Linked DNA regions of Homo sapiens: all the other regions are linked to region 1. Evidence: promoter capture Hi-C in human tissues and cell types (Jung and others, 2019). All regions are on one chromosome and are shown on one strand. Each heading gives the region's core, a stretch centred on a gene start or on the middle of the fragment in contact. The rest is flanking DNA. Distances are from core to core; before and after follow the strand shown.

Region 1 (3,358 bases), core at 395-2,894:
AATTCCCTGGGCCCCTTCCCCTGAGGTGCAGGGACTTGAGGGGAGGGGCGTCCTAAGAAACTAGGGCTTCTTCCTACTAAGAAAAGCCTGATCTCCTCCCCGAGAGAGCTGGGGGAGACTGAGGCAGAGGGTGAACCCTACCCATTCCTCGAAGCCTGACATTCCATATAGTATCCACCTCTCCCGGCTCTAGGCCTGCCTCAGTCCAGGAGGAAATCCGACCCCCTCCCTTCATCCGGACCCCACTTCCCTCATCCAGACCCCCCCACTCTGCTTTTCCTGCCAGCTCCTTAGTGTGGGGGGTGAGGAGTGAATACTGCTTCAGGCAGGGATGGGGCCCACAGGCAGGAGAGGGAGAGCAGGACCCGGGAGGTGGACTCAGGACTGGAGTGGGCGGAGGCCCCCAAGCGTCCAGGCCTGCCTGTGGGATGTGTTGTCAGGGTCTTGCTCCCCCACCCTTTCCTGCTGCAGGAGCCGGCCCCACCCCCACCTCACACACCCACCTGCGCCCGGTGAGTCGCTGGGAAGGGTCTCCTCCACTGCGAAGATGTGAGATGAGGAGGGGGTGATATGGGGGCGGGCAGGGGACAGGAATGCCAGGAGGCCTGCTGAATGGGGGGGGACCCAGGCACCTGCCCTCCCAGCCGGCACTGCCCACAGCCAGCTAGCTCAGCATGGCTCCACGACCACAAGCCTGCCATGCTCCCTCAGCTGGGAATCACAATGTACCCCCTTTTCTTAGAGGCCCACAACTGCGGCTCGTCCTCCATCATAGGCTCACAAGCATTTATTTGGTGCACCCCAAACTCTAAACCAGGGGGGCTGGCTGGGAGCTGTCAGGCTCCAGGGCAAAGAACCCCATTAGAGCAGTCAATCCCGCCCACAGCCTCACCCACTCCCCCTTCTCCCCTCCCCCCTTCAAACCCAGCTCCAGGCTCCCAGCCTCCGGTCCCGGCCTAGGGTGGCAGCGGATGCCGGCGCCCCCACCCCGCCAGGGTCGGGAGCGAGCAACCCGCAGGGGGCTGCGGAGCAGGCGCCCGCCCCAGCCCGCCCCTGGGCGGGTGTCTTCGGTAGACAATGGCTCAGGCAGCAGCGCCTCGCGGACCAGGAGGGAGAAAAACAAATAGGGAGAGGGCGGCGGCGCAGATCCTGGGGACCCTCGCACTACCCATTGTGTCTCCCCAAGACCCCCGCCCCGGACGGCCTCCCTCTCCCCGCCTCCACTTTCCCCCAGAAGCGCCAACCCCAGATCGCTTAGCTCCCCCCACCCGAATCCAGGGAACAGAATACCACTCAATTCACGAACGCCGCGAAGAGGGGGCTGACGGGCGGGAGCCTGATCAGGGGGCGCAGGCCCGCGATCGCGGCCCCTCCCGGCTGAGACTCACCCTGCGGGCTGGGGGGCTCCGGCGGCGACTTGCCGGGAGCCCGGGAGGCGCTGCCGAGCAGCAGCCCCAGCAGCGGCAACAGCCGCGCGAGGACGCTGGGGCCACTCGCCGGCGGCATCGCGGGGCTAGGCCGGGCCCTAGCGGTCCATGGCTCCCGCCTGGTCCCGCTCGCCCGGCCCCGCGCAGCCCCAGCTCTGCGCCGCGCCTCGCAGCTCCGGCTCCCGCTCCCGCTGCGGCGCCCGCTCAGCGCGATTGTCTCCGACCGGAGCCGCCGCAAGCGCCCCCTGCAGGCGGCGCGCCACACCGCTGGCCCTCCGGCACCGCCCCCTCCCGGCCCCGCTCCGCCCGCCGCCCCCCGGTACTGCCCACCTTCAGCCCACCCCGCAGCCCCCGCGCTCTGCGCTCCCAGACTCTGCGCTGCAAAGGAGTGTCGGGATTAGGGTCCCATCACCCGGGTTCTTGGGTTTCGAGAGTCCCCAAAATTTGGTGCAAAATTTGTGTGTGTGTAGGTGGGGAGTGGATATTGCCTACAACACTCTCAAGGGGTACGGTCATGAAAGTCTCAGAAAACTGTAAGAACTCCCTGCTCGATGGCCCCCTTCTCCCGGTAGAACACCTAGGCAGTGCTGGGGTGATAGCAGGGAAGGCCCCCTAGACCCCCCTAAGTCTCTCTTTTTTTTTTTTTTGAGACAGATTTTTTTTTTTCAGAGACAAGTGAACATTTATTTTTGGGCCTTTCTTCCTATTTCAAGTCTTTTTCAAAACAAGGCCCCAAGAATCTCCAAATTCAATTATGTCCCTGGGCTTGGCCGACTGGTGCAGGAGTCTTAGGGAGCCTTGTACAAATGCTAGAGTTACTCACTTACCGACATTAAACTAAAACGCTGGAATTTTTCCTTGGAAACTGGACTGTGATTAGAGGTGCTTGCCATGAACATAAGCTACTGTTTCTTCTCCTTCTTTTTTTTTTTTTTTTTTTTTTTGAGAGAGAGTCTTGCTCTGTTGCCCAGGCTGGAGTGCAGTGGCGTGATCTTGGCTCACTGCAACCTCTGCCTCCCGGGTTCAAGTGATTCTCCTGCCTCAGCCTCCCAAGTAGCTGGGACTACAGGTGCACGCCACCATGCCCGGCTAATTTTTGTATTTTTAGTAGAGACAGCGTTTCACTATGTTGGCCAGGCTGGTCTCGAACTCCTGATCTCAAGTGATCTACCCGCCTCGGCCTCCCAAAGTGCTGGGATTACAGGCGTGAGCTTCTGTCTTTTCTTTGACCCTTCCTTTCCAGTTTTTGAAGATAAAGCTGGAAATAATCTTCTCTGAAGATACTTGATAAAAATTCCCAAAAAAACAAAAACACATGCTTCTACTACCCATGCTTCCACTTCATTAATAAAAATTTACTGCAGTTTGGCACCTGGGTCTAGTTCAGCTGGCGGATGAGCTGACTGATGCGTTCACCCTGATAGCCAGGTGTGCCCATCTCCTTGAGGAAGCCCACTGTATTTTTGGTAGCATGACGGGCCACTGAGAGGTAGAAAGGGCGTAACAACCATGAGACCTCCTGGAAATGCTTCCCTGGGACGGCAATTTCATGACTGAGGTCTTCCAAGCAAACGACACCAAACTTCCCCAGGTGCTTCTCAATCACTGTGTTGTCTGTCAGAGGAATGGTCTTATTCCTTATTCCTGACCTTGGCTTGTCCATGTTTCAAAATGAGTTCCTGGACAGACTTCAGATTTGGAAATCCCCAGGTCACATAAGGTTCCACCATACGCAGCATTTTTAGGTTCTGGGGGGTGACTTTTACAAAGACACCACTAAAAATTTTCTTTAGGCAAAGTCTTACAATGGTTCTCTGCACCAGTAAACTCACGCCATCAATTCTTTCGATGTGTACAACAAAGGCCAAGGAATGTTTATCTGGCAATTCCAAGGCATGATGTTTCACTTCTAGTTGTCTGAGATGCACTTT
Region 2 (3,358 bases), core at 600-3,099, 460 kb before region 1:
TTAGGACTGAATGCCTGCTGAGTCCTGGGGGTGGGGGAACCACGGCAACTCCACCTCCCCCCAAAAGAGGATTCTTCCCAGAGGACTAGTACCTGATTTCAATAAAACCCTCTCTGCTCCCATTCCCTTCTCAGGCCTGAGCTGGTCACCTGAGCTCAGGTGACAGAAATTACAAAAGTGAGGGGGATGGTTCCCTTTCCTCCCAGCTCTGCCGCTGAGGACATGGAATAAAGGTGCTTTCAGGGAGAGGAAGGGCACCCCTATTCAGGCTACACCCAGGCTGGAAGAAATGCCCAGGATCCACTGTGCTGGCCCGTGCCCCTGGTGCCAATCTCTACTCCTAGAGAGCAGGGAGGAGGGATCCCTTCCCTCCCCCTCCCAGGCCTTGATGACCTGGAGCCTTCTCCTGGCTGGCGCTGCTCTCCCTCACAGGGTCAGAGAAGGGACTCCAGAAGTCCTCCTTCCCTAGAGCGTGGAGGGCGGGAAAAGGCAGGGAGGATCCTGTATGAAATCCCTGCGCTCGGAAGTCTTGCCCAGCCTGCCTGGGTTTTCTCCCGGGGAATCGGTTCCCAGAGCATCGGCTGGCTTTGCTCCCCCACGCCCGTCCAAGCCTCTGAGAGGGCGGGGCCTGGCTGTGTCCACAGGAGAACGGCAGTGCCAGGCAAGCTAGCCTGGCTCCGTGCCAAGGTCCTGCACCCAGACATCTGGGAACCTGCACCTCGGCTTCCAAAAGCCTGGGCCCAGATGCCCTCTCAGCTCTGCCTCCGAGATATCCACATCACCCATAGTGTCCGCAGGCGAGCGGACCAGCAGTGAAAGGGAGAGGTTTCTTCCAACCTCCCACCCATCCCTCCATCCATACACATACAAAGAGGTGCGGAGAAGAAAGGTCTGACAAAGGCGCTTTGGAGAGCGAGAGGTCGCGGGGAGGTCTGGACAGAACTGAGGGCCAGAGGATGGGGTCGAAAGGCCAGGCGGACGTGCATGCTTGGACCATCAGATCACCCCTGCCCCAACGGACCCAGCCCTAACACCCTGGGCGCTAGGACCTGGGGGAGGGGGGCGTGTTGTGAGCCATCAAAGAAGGCTCTCTACGTGCGCGCCCGCCGGAGACCAGGGATGAGGTCACTAAATGACTGCCCCGGCCAACCCCCACCCCGTCTTTATCCGCACCGCCCCCCCCTTAATTGACCTAACTTTCTAACCCTAGCTCTTCGCTTCTGGCACCGGTCCCCTCCCAAGTCTCCAGACCCTAACCCTGGCTCCCGACCCGCCCCGCTACAGCTTGGGAAGCGGGAGAAGCAGCGCGCGCCCTTCTGCGGACCCCCTCCCAGGGAAGATTGTGGTGTTAGCTGCCTAGGGGGACCAGGGGGCCACCGGGACCCAGCGCAACCTCTGTCTCGCTCCCCAACCCCCGGAAGCGCTAACAGCACGGTTCTTACGTAATGCCGGGCTTCTAAGTACCCCCAACCCGCACAGCCCCCGGGGAGGCCGCGCAGATACCGGGGCCCCTCACAGCTCACCACCTTGGTGCCTGAAGCCACTTTGGAGCCCCTACCGCAGGGGCGGGGACCAGTGTCAATGGGCAGCGGGGCTTGGTTCTCCCAACCAGCACCCCAGAAAGAGGGCCCAGGGGCGGGGGCGGGTGGACAGGGAGGGAACGGGCCTGGGTGAAAGGGGCCTGTGGAGTTTAAACCCAGTGAATAGGGTCCTAAGTGCCGTGTCAGGACGAAAAGAAGGCGGAGGTCTTGGGATAGGAGCTGGCCCGGGGGCCGGGGGACGCCTACCTGCGCCCCGGGAAGCCCCTAGCTCCGGGCGGCTCCAGCGCAGCCGGGCGCTCAGCGTTTATTGCTTGTCAATCGCTAGCCCGGCTCTTAAAGCGGCAAGGCCTCTCCGCGAGGGGGCGGAGGTCCGGAGGAGAGGGGAGGTGAGGAGAACGCGGAGGCCGGCACAACTCGGAGGAAGTAGTCTTTCCCAGCAGCTGGTACGGGGGCAGCCAGGTAGTGGTTTGGGAGACACCGCACAGACCACGACGCCCTGCTGGAGTCCCACTGGGAAGGGTTAGGGAGGCAGGACTGGTACCAGTACCCGCTGGTGCCCCTCGGCTCCCAAGGATCCCTTAAAGGGGCGATGGTAAAAGTGCCTAATGAGACCGGCTTGATTACTCCGCCCACCCATCTTGGCTTAGACCGGCGTTCTAGTTCCAGGCGTGCCTCACTTTTCCTCGTTATCCTGCTTCCATATTGAGAAAAAGAATAGGAGGACTTCAGAGAGACTCCCAGGAAGCAGGATACCAGCCCCAGAAGGCCTCGGGATCAGGGGCAGCTTTTTAAGGACTCAGAGGGTGGATATCCGGATTCCAGACTTTCCAGAAATTTTGCAAAAAAGAGGAAATGTCTTCCTGAAAGGATTCGAGAGCCTCTTTTAGGTCTAGGTGAGGGAGGCCTGGTCCATTTTCCTGCCTATGGAATAAAGAAGTAACTGGCTAGCCTTCCTCAGAGTCCCAGCCCAAAAAGTAAATAAAGGGTTAAACCCACTGGCCCGCCTTCGCCCAGCCTCCGGCTCCACCCCACATCTGCTAGTAAAAGATGCTGGGCCTCCAAATACGGGAGGCTCTGTGCAGTGCGACTAGCATTTGGGGCCAGCTACGCTACTTCTCCGACCTCGGCGTTCAGCCACCCCGTCCAGTTGCCCTGAACAAAATGTGAGAGTCATCCCTTTTCCTTGCTAACTGGATTCCTAAGATCATAAATGGACTGCATCTTTGGCCGGGCGCGGTGGCTCACTCCCATAATCCCAACACTTTGGGAGTCGGAGGCGGGAGCATCGGTTGAGCCTAGGAGTTCGAGACTAGCCCAAGCAACATAGTGAAACCCCATCGCTACAAAAAATAAAATAAACAAAATTAGCTGGGCGTGGTAGCGCGCGCCTGTAGTCCCAGCTACTTGGGAAGCTGAGGCTGCAGTGAGCCGAGATTGCAACACCGCACTCCAGCCTGGGCAACAGAGTGAGACCCTGTCTCAAAAGAAACAAAAAGAAAAGAAATGGATTACATTCTGGAAACTTGCTTGGAAATCTCAGAAATGGGAATCTATCCCGAAAGCAGGGGACTGGTCCCTGGGTTCCAAGACTCAGCTCTCCCCTGAGTTCCAAGGGTATAAGTTTGGATATAGGAAAAAGCCACAGAGGCGGCCGAACTGCTGAAAACCACATTGTTTAGGTGACCCAGGCTTTTACTGAGAGAAGAAAGCCATCGAACCCAGATAGCTTTGACAGGAATTGCAGGCTTTGGTCTCTAAACAAAGAGGGTTCTTGGAGCGCATTGCTTGCAGCTCTTTCCTCTATCTGCAAGCTAGAA
Region 3 (3,358 bases), core at 475-2,974, 390 kb before region 1:
ATCTTTCTGTTGTCTAATGATGTCAAACATCTATTCATGTGCTTATCTGCCATCTTTATATCCTCCTTGGTGCAGTGTCTGTTCATGTGGTTTTTTTTTTTTTAAGTGGGTTGTTGGTTTTCTTATTGTTGAGTTTGAAGGGTTCTTTATATATTCTGGATACAAGTCTTTTGCTGAATATGTGATTTGCAACTATTTTCTTTCAGTCCGTAGCTGGTTTTTTCGTTTTCTTAACCCTGTCTTTCATAGAACAAAAGTTTTTATTTATGATGAAGTCCAATTTATCAATTGTTCTCTTTTGTGACTCATTCTTTTGGGTGTCCAGTCTAAGAACTATTTGCCTAAACTGAGGTCATGAAGATTTTCCCCTACTTTTCTCTAAAGTTTTATTATTTTACATTGCTTTCCCTTTTGAGCTAATTTTTGTATAAGGTATGAGGTTTCGGTTGAAATTCTCTTTTTTGTGTATGAATGTTTATTGTTCAGACACCATTATTGGGTCTAGGAATCTATACATGTGTTAAAGCTCATAAAGCTGTACACCAACAAAATGGTCAATTTTATTTTATGTTACTTTAGTTATTTATTTATTTTATTTTATTTTATTTATTTATTTATTTATTTATTTATTTATTTATTGAGAGAGGGAGTCTCATTTTGTCACCCAGGCTGGAGTGCAGTGGCGTGATCTTGGCCTGCTGCAACCTCCACCTCCCAGGTTCAAGTAATCTCCTGTCTTAGCCTCCTGAATAGCTAGGACTACAGCTGTGTGTCACCACGCCGGGCTAATTTTGTATTTTTTTTAGTAGAGATGGGATTTCACCATGTTGGGCCAGGCTGGTCTCAAACTCCTGACCTCAGGTGATCTGCCTGCCTCAGCCTCCCAAAGCACTGGGATTACAGGCGTGAGCCGCCACACCCGGCCAACTTTATGTTACTTTAAAAAACATTTTTTTTTTTGAGACAGGATCTCAATCACCGAGGCTGGAATGCAGTGGCACAGTCATAGCTCACTGTAACCTTGAACTCGTGAGCTCAAACGATCTTCCCACCTCAGCCTTCCTAGTTGCTAGGCAAACAGGCATGCACCACTATACCCGGCTAATTTGTATTAGTATTTATTTTTGGTTTTGTTTTGTTTTTTTGAGACAGAGTCTCACTCTGTCGCTAGGCTGGGGTGCAGTGGCGTGATCTCGGTTCACCGCAACCTCCGCCTCCTGAGTTCAAGCGATTCTCCTGCCTCAGCCTCCCAGGTAGCTGGGACTACAGGCGTGCCACCAAGCCCACCTAATTTTTGTATTTTTAGTAGAGACGGTGTTTCACCATGTTGGCCAGGATGGTCTTGACCTCTTGACCTCGTGATCCGCCCGCCTCAGCCTCCCAAAGTGCCGGGATTACAGGCGTGAGCCACCGCACCCAGCCTATTTTTGTTGAGACACGATCTCACTATGTTGCCCAGGCTGGTCTCAAACTCCTGGCCTCAAGTGATCCTCCTGCTTCAGCCTCCCAAAGTGCTGGATTACAGATGTGGGCCACAGCACTCTGCCAAAAAAGTCATTTAAAAAAAAAAAGTTATTTCTAAAGTGCTTAGAACAGAACCTGAAAGTAAGTTTTTAAAAAGTGTTTGTCACTTAAAGATAAATTCCTGGCTTCCTAGGCAAGCCACCCTCCTACTGTAAGCACCCATGGGTGGCTACTGACAGATCAGGAGAGTCTCTGGGGTTTGTGCCTGGTGTGGGATCACATCCTAGGTCGTTGTGGAGGAAAAGTTAAATATTAAATCTGAACTCAATTGAACATGGACACAAACAATGGTCACCAAGTACCAGAAGGGGCTGTGTGAGCCCCTTGAGGCATTCATCCAGCGCTGTTTTGGAGAAATCTCTATTTCAATCTATTCCTATACGTTACTGAAAAACAAAGCTGGGCGTGGTTGCTCACGTCTGTAATCCCAGCACTTTGGGAGGCCAAGGTGGGTGGATCACCTGAAGTCCAGGAGTTCGAGATCAGCCTGGCCAACTTGGTGAAACCCCGTCTCTACTAAAAATACAAAAATTAGCCAGGCATGGTGGCGGCCACCTGTAATCCCAGCTGTTTGGGAGGCTGAGGCAGGAGAATCACTTGAACCGGGAAGGCAGAGATTGCAGTGAGCCAAGATCGTGCCTCTGCACTCCAGCCTGGGTGACAAAGCACGACTCCGTCTCAAAAAATAAATAAATAAGTATATAAGAAAAACAACAGACAATCGCAAAAACAAGTTGACCTTTTTGTGTTCCTTGAGCCTGGTCACGAAGGGCCTTCGTGCCTGGACCTCATGCCAAACAACTCGTTACAAAAGAGCTAGGGTCCTAGATTGTGCCAAAGCTTCATGAGACCTCTTCCTTGTCTGTGCACGGACAAGTGGCCGACTCTGGAGCCGACCCAGGCTGTTGCTTCCCAGTCTGGTGGTGAATCCTCCATAGTCTGGTGAGTATGAATATCTTTTCCCTTCTCCCCTTCCCATTGCAATTTGCTTATTATATCAATCTGCTTATTATTATATCATTTGCTTATTATATCTACATTGCCATTTACATGGGATAAAGGTTGTTTACCCTTAAAGGTATCGTGGGTGTGTCTTTTCTTCCCTCGCGCATTTCCCGCACATAACATTTGTGTCCCCGGATGCTACTGTGCAAGCAGAAGAGAAGCAACAGGCAGATTCAGACCGTCCTGCACAAACTGCCCCCTTTACTAGTAGAGGGTGGGGTGGAAGGGCAGGCAGTGGGGGATGGTTCTAGGTGAACACGCAGGCACCTTTGGAGGGAGGTGTCCCATGGTTGCTCAAAGCCCCACTCCAGAATCCGACAAAACCTGCTTCAAACCCTGTGTCAATTGTTCACCCAGTCTCTGTGGTGTGAGCAAATCATTTCATCTCTGAGCTTTGGTTTTGTCATCTGTGAAAAATAGGTCATAAAAGTGCCCGTAAAGGGTTAGGAGGATTGAATGAAATAATGGCTGTCAGAAGCTCAGGACTGTTGCCAGCTCAATGTAAGCACCCCATAACGTGCTACATTTTCTTGCTATTGTTTGCAATAAAGAGACTGGCAGGATGCGCCCTCAGTGTGAACAGTGGAGTTATCTTTTGTTGCGGGAATTCGGGTCCTAACATTGTATTCTAAAAATGTTCAGAGTTACAGCAAATTGAAAAAGGCTGTTCAGCAAGTGGTGCTGGTGAGGATTAGGATGCTTTTTCTTTCTTTTGGCTTAGCTATAGTTTATATTTTTCTACAGCAGACATATATTATTTCGATAATTAGAAATAAATATGGGGGGGAGGATAGGGAAAAAAAAGTTCAACAGAGTAGGACAAAGGACA
Region 4 (3,358 bases), core at 460-2,959, 340 kb after region 1:
ATCAGGGCTGAGATGTATAAGCTTCCTCAGGGAGGAGTCCCACTGGAAGAGATACCAAGTTTATGTACTGTATATACCTCTACCAGTGTTTAAAAAATATCACCCTGGGCCAGGCGCGGTGGCTCACACCTGTAATCTCAGCACTTTGGGAGGCCGAGGCGGATGAATCACCTGAGGTCAGGAGTTCGAGACCAGCCTGGCCAACCTGGTGAAACCCCGACTCTACTAAAATACAAAAATTAGCCGGGCATGGTGGCAGGCACCTGTAATCCCAGCTACTCGGGAGGCTGAGGCAGGAGAATGGCCTGAACCCGGGAGGCAAAGGTTGCAGTGAGCCAAGATTGCGCCACTGCACTCCAGCCTGGGCGACAGAGCGAGACTCCCTCTCAATAAAAAAATAAATAAATATAAAAACTATCACTCTGGTTGCTGAATGGAGAATGGATTATACTGGGGAGAGATAGGAAGCTACTCGGGAGTAGAAGTGAAGAATTGACCGCAGTACTTTAGGCAAGAAATGATAGCAGCTTGAACTAGGGTGGTGGTGGTCTGATTCCAGATGTACTTTGGAGGCAGAGTTAGTAGGATTTTTTTCTTGGAGTGGGGATGGGCACAAGGGAAAGTACTGAAAGACAACTTCTAGGTTTTTGGTTTGAGCAACTGGGTGAATGATTGTGACATTTGAGTAAACAGTAACATTTTACTGAGAGGGGAAGACCTGGGGGGAGAACAGGTGGTTTTTTGACAGGGGCAGCGAAACAAATGTTCTGTTTTGAATGTGTTCAGCCTGAGGTGCCTATTAGACATCCAAATTGAAATAGCCAGTAGGCACTTGAATATGTGAGTCTGGAGATCAGACAGGTCAGAGCTACAGAAAATCTGAAGGTGTGGCAGAGCTGAATTGTAAAGCTGTGGAGCTGGATGAGATCTCCTAGGGAGATAAGGGAGAGGGATAAGGGCTAAAGCGTTGGCATACTCCAAAATATATAGGTGAACAGTGGCTTTGGATCCAGCAAAGGGGACTGAGGAGGAACCATTGAGATAGGGAAAAAAACGGTAGAGTGCTGAGTCATGGAAGCAAAAAGAAGAAAGTATTTCAAAGAAGGAATAGTCCATCTATAAGTTGGATATGATAAGGATAGTATTTCAGACTGTGGAAATCACAGTTGACCTGGATAAGTACAGTTTTTGTGGGGAGGTCCCCAGCTCTCCACTGAATGATCTCTTATTAGATCAAATTTGATCTCTAATTAGCAGTCTAATTAGATGGGTTGAAGAAAAGATGGGAAGTGAGGGATAAAGATACGTCTTTTGAGAAGTTTTGTTGGGCAGGTAATAATTGAAGAACGGGAGGGGGACAAAAATGTGAAGATGAAATGATGTGTAAGTGAAATCTTTATGTAAACTGCAAATGCTCTGCAAGTGTTAGGCTTATTTTGTTATTTAGTATTCAAACTTCTAGGAATTTCAATGCAGCTCAGTGTGAAGAATCACTAAAAAGCGACCACTAGTCCTCAACTTGAGGGCCATTAAGGGGCAAAGCCGTCTAGCCAGTGAAGAGCCAAGAAATGAAGAGACGGTTTGAGAAGACGTAGGCGGTGGGGGAACGGAAAGAGGAATCGCGAAACTAATATTGTCCTTCCAAGGACACCGTAGGGCGGATCTCGCAGCTACGGCGTTCTTTTAGGGGTGGAGCCGGCAGGAAATTTAAACTGAAGCCGCGGCCGAAAACGCCAAGAGATTGATGCTGTAGCTGCCCTGAGATAACCAGGACTGTGGAATCGGGAAGAGCTCATGGAGCTCGCGAATGTAATACGGAGGCCTCTGAGGAAGGAGTACGGAGGCCGAGAAGGAGCCGGCATTTGATGAGCGAACCGGGAAAGGGTACGGATGCCGGGAAGGGGAGAAAGAAAGGCGGAAGGGGTCGTTAATAGCTGAGGCGAGGTGCGGAGTCGTGGAGGGGGCTTAGGAAGTGACCAGCGGGTAGGTGCCGAAGCTGAGGAGGGTATAGGGGCCGGGAAGGAGCCACAGGAGTTGAGGGGACCGAGGAATGAAGGTGGCAGAGGAACGTAGGGGACAACAGCCTGGAGGGATGTATGGAGATTGAGATGGACAGGAGGTGGCCAAGAGGTCACGGCCGTTGACTGAACGGAGTCTGAAAGGAGGCGGAGGGCATGAGGGGCAAGAGCCTGGCGGGAGTCGCGGGATGTAGGTCGGAATGGAGTTGAGTCTTGCTGTTCCCAGGAGTCGCGTTTCTGTGCGCGTTTTGGGAGACAGTAGTGGGCGGGAGGCATGGAAGTTCCAAGGGTTGGTGAAGATGGTTGAGTTGCTGTTATGTCCTTTCTCAGGAGACGATTGCCTCGAGCTGGAGAGTTCCATGGCTGAGAGTAGGCTCCGGGCCCCGGACCTAGGTGGGTAACAGGACAGAACTAGGGACGTGAGGTGAAAATTGCCCCAGGGTCTCTTGGAGAAGACCGAAAAATGTTCCCCCTGTTGGAGTTTTCGATCACTCAGTGTTTTTATGTACTTATTTATTCATTTTATTTATTGGGATGGGGTCTTGCTGTGTTGGCCAAGCTGGTCTCAAACTCCTGGCCTCAAGCAGTTCTCCTGCCTAGGCCTCCCAAAATGCTGGGATTACAGGTGTGAGCCACTTCACCAGGCCCACTTAGTGGTTTTATGTGTGTGTGTGTATGGACGCAGCATCATAGACCGTTTTGGGATTCATGATAAAGGTCAAGTAAGAGTCATATTATGAACAAGATTAACAGACAGATGTGGAGTCAGGATAGAGTGACTTATTAAATATATAAATTAATACATTCATAGTTGTTTACAATAAAATCCTTAAGTTAAACACTGCTACCTAATTAGGTAAGTATTTTAGCACATGGCACTTCCCTCCGTACTGCCCCTTTAGTTAATATCATCTAGTTGGCCGGGCGCGGCTGCTCACGCCTGTAATCCCAGCACTTTGGGAGGCCAAGGCGGGCGGATCACGAGGTCAGGAGATTGAGACCATCCTGGCTAACACAGTGAAACCCCATCTCTACTAAAAATACAAAAAATTAGGCGGGCGTGGTGAGGCGTGCCTGTAGTCCCAGCTACTCAGGAGGCTGAGGCAGGAAAATTGATTGAACCCAGGAGGCGGAGGTTGCAGCGAGCCGAGATTGCGCCACTGCACTCCAACCTGGGCGACCGAGCGAGACTCCGTCTCAAAAAAAAGAAAAAAAAAATACCGTCTACTTTTACTTCTGGATTGTTAACAGATATGCCATCGGCTTGTTGCCTTTTAAACAGTAATCCACTTCATTTACTGAGTTATTCATTCTTCCCATCTCTTGTTGGTTTTTTTTCC

The links. Contacts are between HindIII fragments. The study calls those that stand out against the background at their distance.
Region 2: a contact is called between the fragment with the promoter of MPP2 here and the fragment with the promoter of FAM171A2 in region 1, in 1 of the 25 tissues and cell types used here (spleen).
Region 3: a fragment that was not itself captured here is called in contact with the fragment with the promoter of FAM171A2 in region 1 in 1 of the 25 tissues and cell types used here (aorta).
Region 4: the fragment with the promoter of DBF4B here is called in contact with the fragment with the promoter of FAM171A2 in region 1 in 4 of the 25 tissues and cell types used here (IMR-90 fibroblasts, dorsolateral prefrontal cortex, mesendoderm cells and 1 more).

The regions. Positions count from the first base shown.
Region 1 is chr17:44,362,209-44,365,566 of GRCh38, forward strand. FAM171A2 (family with sequence similarity 171 member A2) reads right to left here and starts at 1,645. Exons shown (of 8, transcript NM_198475.3): 1 at 1,389-1,645. The coding sequence starts at 1,506. It also overlaps the pseudogene RPL7L1P5. RefSeq lists a silencer at 1,357-1,736. The HindIII fragment of the contact is 16,504 bases long and covers 1-3,358 here.
Region 2 is chr17:43,905,687-43,909,044 of GRCh38, forward strand. MPP2 (MAGUK p55 scaffold protein 2) reads right to left here and starts at 1,850. Exons shown (of 13, transcript NM_005374.5): 1 at 1,788-1,850. RefSeq lists an enhancer at 1,860-2,009. The HindIII fragment of the contact is 11,562 bases long and covers 1-3,358 here.
Region 3 is chr17:43,971,591-43,974,948 of GRCh38, forward strand. It overlaps a transcript of PYY not described here. Among named protein-coding and RNA genes, the nearest start is that of PYY, 19 kb to the left of the region's middle. The HindIII fragment of the contact is 8,321 bases long and covers 1-3,358 here.
Region 4 is chr17:44,706,956-44,710,313 of GRCh38, forward strand. It overlaps DBF4B (DBF4B-CDC7 kinase regulatory subunit), which reads left to right and starts at 1,710. Exons shown (of 14, transcript NM_145663.3): 1 at 1,710-1,884; 2 at 2,349-2,411. The coding sequence starts at 1,866. RefSeq lists enhancers at 1,516-2,030, 2,031-2,544. The HindIII fragment of the contact is 13,873 bases long and covers 1-3,358 here.